2 separate regions of the Homo sapiens genome follow, and region 1 is linked to region 2. The links are contacts of gene promoters, found by promoter capture Hi-C in blood cells and fetal thymus (Javierre and others, 2016). All regions are on one chromosome and are shown on one strand. The core of a region is centred on a gene start or on the middle of the fragment in contact, and the rest is flanking DNA. Distances in the headings are between cores, read along the strand shown.

Region 1 (3,345 bases), core at 396-2,895, 920 kb before region 2:
ACTATTTTCTAGATTCTGAACAAAGAATCCTTTTTTCTCATCCTGCAGGAAAATTTTGTGGAGAAAGCCTCCCTTCATCCATTCTTATTGGCTCTAATTCTCTAAGGCTGAAATTCGTCTCTGATGCCACAGATAATGCAGCTGGGTTTAATCTTACCTATAAAGCTCTTAAACCAAACTACATTCCTGGTAAAACCATTTACTTTTAATCACATACTATCTCCACCTTCTGTAGAAGCTTAGGCCCCATAGGAATTAGGTGAGTGGCAGGGATCCCTCTCCCAAGGCCCAACTGACTCCACATGGGAGAGGGGCACAGGCCAACTAGAGAACAGGGGGCAGTCTCCCCCTCAACCCTGAGTTCACCCTGCTAGCTCGTAGTGATTGCCCCTCCAAGTGAGTCGAGAGGGCCTGATGAGTTCTGGAGAATCATGCACTACGTCTTTTCTTGTTCGCAGTGTCTGAAAATGCAATTGATATGCATCATTTTCAGGAGACAGGAGGGAGAGCAGTGAGAATTCTTCTTTATTTGAATGGTGCCATCTGTTTGGACTTTTTCTTACGTTTCAGATTCAGGTTGCAGTTACTTAACTGTCCTTTTTGAAGAAGGTCTCATACAGAGTCTAAACTATCCTGAAAACTACAGTGACAAGGCTAACTGTGACTGGATTTTTCAAGCCTCCAAACATCACCTAATTAAGGTATTGACTTTGGCTGTCCTTACGTAGCTATGGTAAATTCACAGAATAGCTAACATAAGCACCATGAGGTCAGAGGTTTTATCTGATTTATTCACTGCTGTGTTTTCAGTACCTAGAACCCAGCACCTGACACACAAAGCTGTCAATAAATACTTGCTGAATAATGGATCCGCCCAGTTTCCCCTGCAACTACACATTTTTTCCACTAGATGGCACTGTGCTCCTTACTTTAAAAAAAAAAAAAAAAAAAAAAAGTGCCGCTTTAATCTTTGTATTGAATTAGCCGGGCGCGGTGGCGGGCGCCTGTAATCCCAGCTACTCGGGAGGCTGGAGAATTGCTTGAACCCGGGAGATGGAGGTTGCAATGAGCCGAGATCGCGCCACTGCACTCCAGCCTGGGCTACAAGAGCGAAACTCTCAAAACACAAAACAAAACAAAACAAAACAAAAACTTTGTGTTGGTGACTTTTAGTCCATTCCAGAAACAAGCATGTCTTCCTTATTTATTAAACTGCTCACAAAACACATTGTAAGTTATAGATAACAAAATCAAGGTCAATCAGGCCAAAATCATCAAGCCTTTCAAGCAGAGAGGACAGAGCAAGCCTAGAGGAACCAGCGCAGAACAGGCTCAGGGAATCGCTGGTTTAAGAGGGTCTTAAGGTGTCCTGGAGTGGACAGTGGAAGGCAAGGTGGAAGTCACTGTATGGAGGCCTTTGAACGCCTGGAAATGGAGTTTATTCCACATTTGATTAGCAGTGTGTGGTTAGTTGTTTGTTCATTAAACACTAATGGACCATCTGCAGAGAGATATCATCAGGGAGGTAGAAGTAGGACTGCAGTCAGGGTGAGATTGGAATGAGGCATTTTCTCATAGATCTTTCTTTTAAAATAATAATTGAAAACAAGACAGTGTACGATGGAGAGAAAAGAGAGCAGAAAATAAAGGGGAGAGGAGTGAGGGATGATGAGACACCAGCGTTCTCACTTAAGAGATGGAAAGAACTCTGAGATGTGGGAGGAGAACCAAATTGGTGTGTTTTTATGACAGCCTGGAGAATGCAGCCTTTAACTTAAAACACAAACAAAACCAAAGAAAAAGATGTGACCAATCATTTGGATACCACACTAAGTTAGAACTTAAAGAGATGAGAACTGAGGTGTCCAGTCCCCACCCCACACCTCCATAAAAAAGGGAGAATAATTAGATGGGAAATTGAACAATTGAGAGGAGTTGGGATTGGTGGTATCTGAAATATCACGTGAAGTCAGATGTTAATGGCAGAAACAAGATCACACAGGTTTTATGAATGAGTGGGAAAAGATGATACAGAGGCAGTTGGTATAGATTTCTTTCTAAAAGTTCATCAAACCTAAACAGATTTGGGGCAAAAATTTCAGCAGAATTAAGGAAAATTTGTTAGTGGTGGAGGATAAAATTTAGGTTGTGAGCATGTTTCCAGGTGGAGGAAGAAGAGGAAATTTAGTTGAAAATCTGAAAATGCCAGAGCCAGAAGTGATTGAAAAATATCTCTTCAATAAGTAAAGTTTGAGTGTCGTGCATCAGTGAAGCGATGCTCTCATACTCTGCCAGTGACAGCATCATTTTGCAGAACTCGTGTAAGATAGTAATTTGGAAACTGGTGTTAAAAGTCATAGGAATATGCTCACCATTTGACTTGGAGAGAAAAGGGCCCCTTCCCAGAAAGTATCCCAGTAAGGGTTTAATAAATGTTTGAATGAATCCTATTTCTGATACAGGTCCCCCTCCCCACGCCTACCTTTACCATTAGTAATTATTTGCCTCCAGTTTTGTTTTATCCACACAATCCTTTCTGTTTCTTGCTCAGAGTCTGGGTCCCATTGAATCCCCATCAACTGTGTGTTAAAATTAGAGTTCCTATTTCATCAGCCCTCTCTCCCACCACTCTTCACTTCAAATTCAATTGGCTAGTGCTCACCAAACTGCTCCAAGATCACTCTTTATTGTTTCTTTGTTTCTCCTTCACACTGTTCCTTCTATCTAGATAGTTCCCCTCCCTTTTCCTGAAACAAAACAAGTGCCCCATGCAGGGAATGATACAAGAGAAGAAAAAAAGTAAATGCCTAAAGATATTCACTGCCAAGTTTTTAAGATAGCAAAAAATACAGGTCTCAAGGATAGAGATAAATGAAATATTATGCTGCCAATAAGCATCACAATTATAGAAACTATGAGAAAAGGTTTGTCATGATTTATTCTTGGTGACCCTAGGTTGATTCCAGGTGATCAACTTTCTTTTCTAGGTCATTACTCATCATAGCTTAATAATCTACTCAAGAATTTTGCTGAGGTTTACATTTAAGCTTAGTATCCAAAATCAGCTCTCTCTAACTCATACAAGGATTTCCTTTTTCATGCACATTCATGAGGCTCACTACATTTGACTCCGAGCCCACTTATGCAAATGCTTTCAGTAGCTCAGATGATACTTTGTTTTATATCAGCAATTAGACTCACTTACATCTGTGCCTTCTCAGAATTTTGCAGTGAGGCATGGAAATATAGTGGCAACAGGACAAAGCAGGTGAGAAGAGGAGCCAGCTATATCCCGCTGGGTAGAAAGACACGGTCTCCAAGGGGCACAACAAATTTCAGTCTTGA
Region 2 (3,029 bases), core at 524-3,023:
TAAGGAAGTATGCATACAAGTAACAATGATTAAAGATTTATAGAAACAAGGTGGACTTGACAAGTAGTTGACCATGAACAAAGAAGTTTTGCCACCTCCTCAGACCTTTGCTGATGCCCAGACATCTGTGTTCACCAGTCACCTCCTGGTCTTAGCCCCATCCCTTTTCCCCCTCCCTCTAACATAAAAGGAGCCTAAAAATTAATCAACTTTAGATAGTTCTTTAGGATGTTAGTCCACCATCTTCTCAGTTTGCTGGCTTTCTGAAATAAAGTTGTCTTCCTTGCCCCAACACCTTTTCTCTCCACTTATTGGCTGTCGTGTGGCAAGTAGTAGAAGATTTGGACTCGACCACATTTAGCAGTCCAGCTCTCTGCCTCCTTTCACTATAACTATTAACGCAAATTTCATGTCCATCATTTTCTTTCTTCATTTATATGTAGTTTTATTGAATGTACACATATTTATAGGAAGTTTATTTTCACTTAAGTTCTTAACACTGCAAAAGAAGTACCACGATATATAATCCTAAGGTGTCTCTTGCTTCCCTTAATATTAGTTTCCTAAGTTGCTTTTTTTGTTGTATGCTCTGGTTCCTTTGTTTAGATTCCTACATAGTAACCCTTTGGTGCATATCTATCTATTCCACTGTTGATGGGCATAAAGGTCGTTTCTAATTTTTATTGTACTGTGAATAATGCTGCTCTTATAATTTACATGTTTAAAACCGTCTTTTCAGTACATTCCTTTTATAATTAAAAAATAAAAAGATTTTTATATTAGTTCTTCTGTTGCACTTCTGAAATAATTTTGAGTATATATTTTATATAAACAGAAAGTGGAAACTTATTTTTATTTTTTTTAAGTTCAAAGAGAAAAGATATGATAACTCCGGAAGAAATTTTCAGCATTTCCTGGTGAAATGGCTGATTAAAGAGATACTAAAGAATGAGGAAGATTAAGCACAGAATTGGGTGAGAGATGGGAAAGCCTGAACTAAAAGCAGAAGTGAGTGCAAGCAGGTGCTGTGTCATCATCCCAAAGCTCTGAGCAGCTCAGCTGACTGATCACAGAATATGTAGGCCCATGAACAAATGAACACACACAAGAGGGAGTAGAAAGGAGAAACAAAGAACTGAAAAATAAATTAGTGCTGGATCCTCATTAAAGCTCAGTGAAGGAAGACCTGATATTAACAGAAGCATAGTTAACTCCCTCTAGTTGGTAATAGCCCAGGCTAGTGGCACAAAGAGGGATATGTGAGTGGCAGCATCTATAGAACCCATGAGACAGACTTTATATTTTGGACAGAGGGCTGGACAGGGAGGTGTTGCTTTTCAGATTGGTTACTGACACTATCTATTTTGTCAGAAACAGCCTCTGTCTGGTTTTCCGGTCAGTGATTTCTAGGTTAAAATTATAGTTTTGGTTTTGTAAGGCAGGAGAAAGATCTTAGACTCCAATGAGTGGTGAGACACAGCAAGCCCATGGCGGGCAGAACAAGGCCTCAAGGTTCAGAGCTCATTTGGTGGTAAAGTTTGAAGAAATGGCAGGCCAGGAGACATGCCCAAGGGGATTTATTAAAATCCCATTTCCTGGAGCAATATTTTCAGGGGAGGTCATGTCAGCTGAGAGGGTGAGACTATGAACCCTCCCCCAGGACAGGCCTCACTGTTGGCGCAGAGACAGTAAGGCTGGGCATTGGTGGGTCTCTTTTAAGCAGCTCTTCTTATACCTCTTTTCTCACATTCCTGCTGTGCTCCTCTTTTATCATGAAACACAGCATGAGGGGAATATATGAAATCTGAGGACCTGGACTTAAGAACTCAGCTAGAACCATTCCAAAGCAGTAAGGACTTTCTCGCAAGGACAGTGAATGAGAGAACTTTGGAAGAGATTCAGCTCCTCACTTCTGCAGGATCCTGCCCTAGGTTCTCAGCTGCCTGTCTGCATCTATCTCTACTTCCAGAGAGGACTTGCAGTGCCAGTGACTGGAGGAGCCTTTGATCTCTGATCCTAGAGACAGCCATACACACACCTACATTCATCCTGGCCAGAAGAAGCAACTTTTCTTTCTTTGGCTTCTTGAACCTCTTTACCTGGAAGCTATGCCCCTTCCCATATGAGGTAAGGGCTCTGTCTCCGTTTCAAGGCAATATGGGAAGTCTGGAAGTCCTGAGAAACAGGGTCAAGACCTTACACTGCTCTCCTTCTCAGATTCTCTAGTTCCTCAGGCTTTATGATTCACTCACTCCCATCTATATCTTATCAACCTTGTACATGTACCCATCTTGCACATGTAGGAACAACCAAAATAATTCTATGCCATTGGCCAGCCGTGAGTTCCTAGAATTCCTGATGATGGCCTCCTGGTAAAAGTCTCAGTACTTACCTTTGTTACATCTAGATTTTCCTGGCCTCCAGTAGTTTGATGTGAGTCCCCAAATGAATAGTACCTCAAAGGAGGACTATCTAAAATATGCTGAAGTGCCTTTCCCCTGCAGGACTGCTTGGCGCTAAGTCCAGTGCCACACAAAAAGCCAAATGAAGTAAATACAAAAAATAAATATACTGAGCAGAGATGAAAAAGAAAAACTTATAAAATATACTTCCAAAAATTTAGCTCTACCTTGTTAATTGACTGACCATTTTCCATAAACTATAGCAATGCCTCTTAATATCAGCCTCTGCTGACTTCTCTTGGTTTGAAATACCCGCAACCACCAGCAGTTTTCCAGAATGAAGCTCTTCCTCTGTAGGCCCAGTGTGTGTTCTCTGGCCTTTCCCTTTAGATGACCCCAGAGAGAACTCAGTAAATGGAAAGAAGGGAAAACAATAGTCCCGTATCAGAGGGAGGAGGTAGGTATGTAGGATCCTGAGTCCTGGTTACACCACCTTACCCAAGCCCTGATTTTTCTTCTCTTTGAAATCCTGTCCAAACATCTGGTGCAGGAAGCTAGAAGAATGTGCCCAGCTAATTATGTTCCTCCTTTTATTTACCTGTCCATTCATCTTTTTATTCAAGAAAA

The links. The method cuts DNA at HindIII sites, captures the fragments that hold promoters and counts their contacts. A CHiCAGO score of 5 or more calls a contact.
Region 1: a contact is called between a fragment that was not itself captured here and the fragment with the promoter of OR2AG2 in region 2, in 1 of 17 cell types (M0 macrophages). The highest score is 5.6, in M0 macrophages.

Annotation. Positions count from the first base shown.
Region 1 is chr11:7,692,414-7,695,758 of GRCh38, reverse strand. OVCH2 (ovochymase 2) reads left to right here. Exons shown (of 16, transcript NM_198185.7): 11 at 49-189; 12 at 571-701. LOC105376533 (a long non-coding RNA gene) reads right to left here. Exons shown (of 11, transcript XR_007062576.1): 4 at 3,206-3,345. Among named protein-coding and RNA genes, the nearest start is that of OVCH2, 12 kb to the left of the region's middle. The HindIII fragment of the contact is 2,809 bases long and covers 241-3,049 here.
Region 2 is chr11:6,770,720-6,773,748 of GRCh38, reverse strand. It overlaps OR2AG2 (olfactory receptor family 2 subfamily AG member 2), which reads left to right and starts at 1,773. Exons shown (of 2, transcript NM_001004490.2): 1 at 1,773-2,127. The HindIII fragment of the contact is 9,473 bases long and covers 1-3,029 here.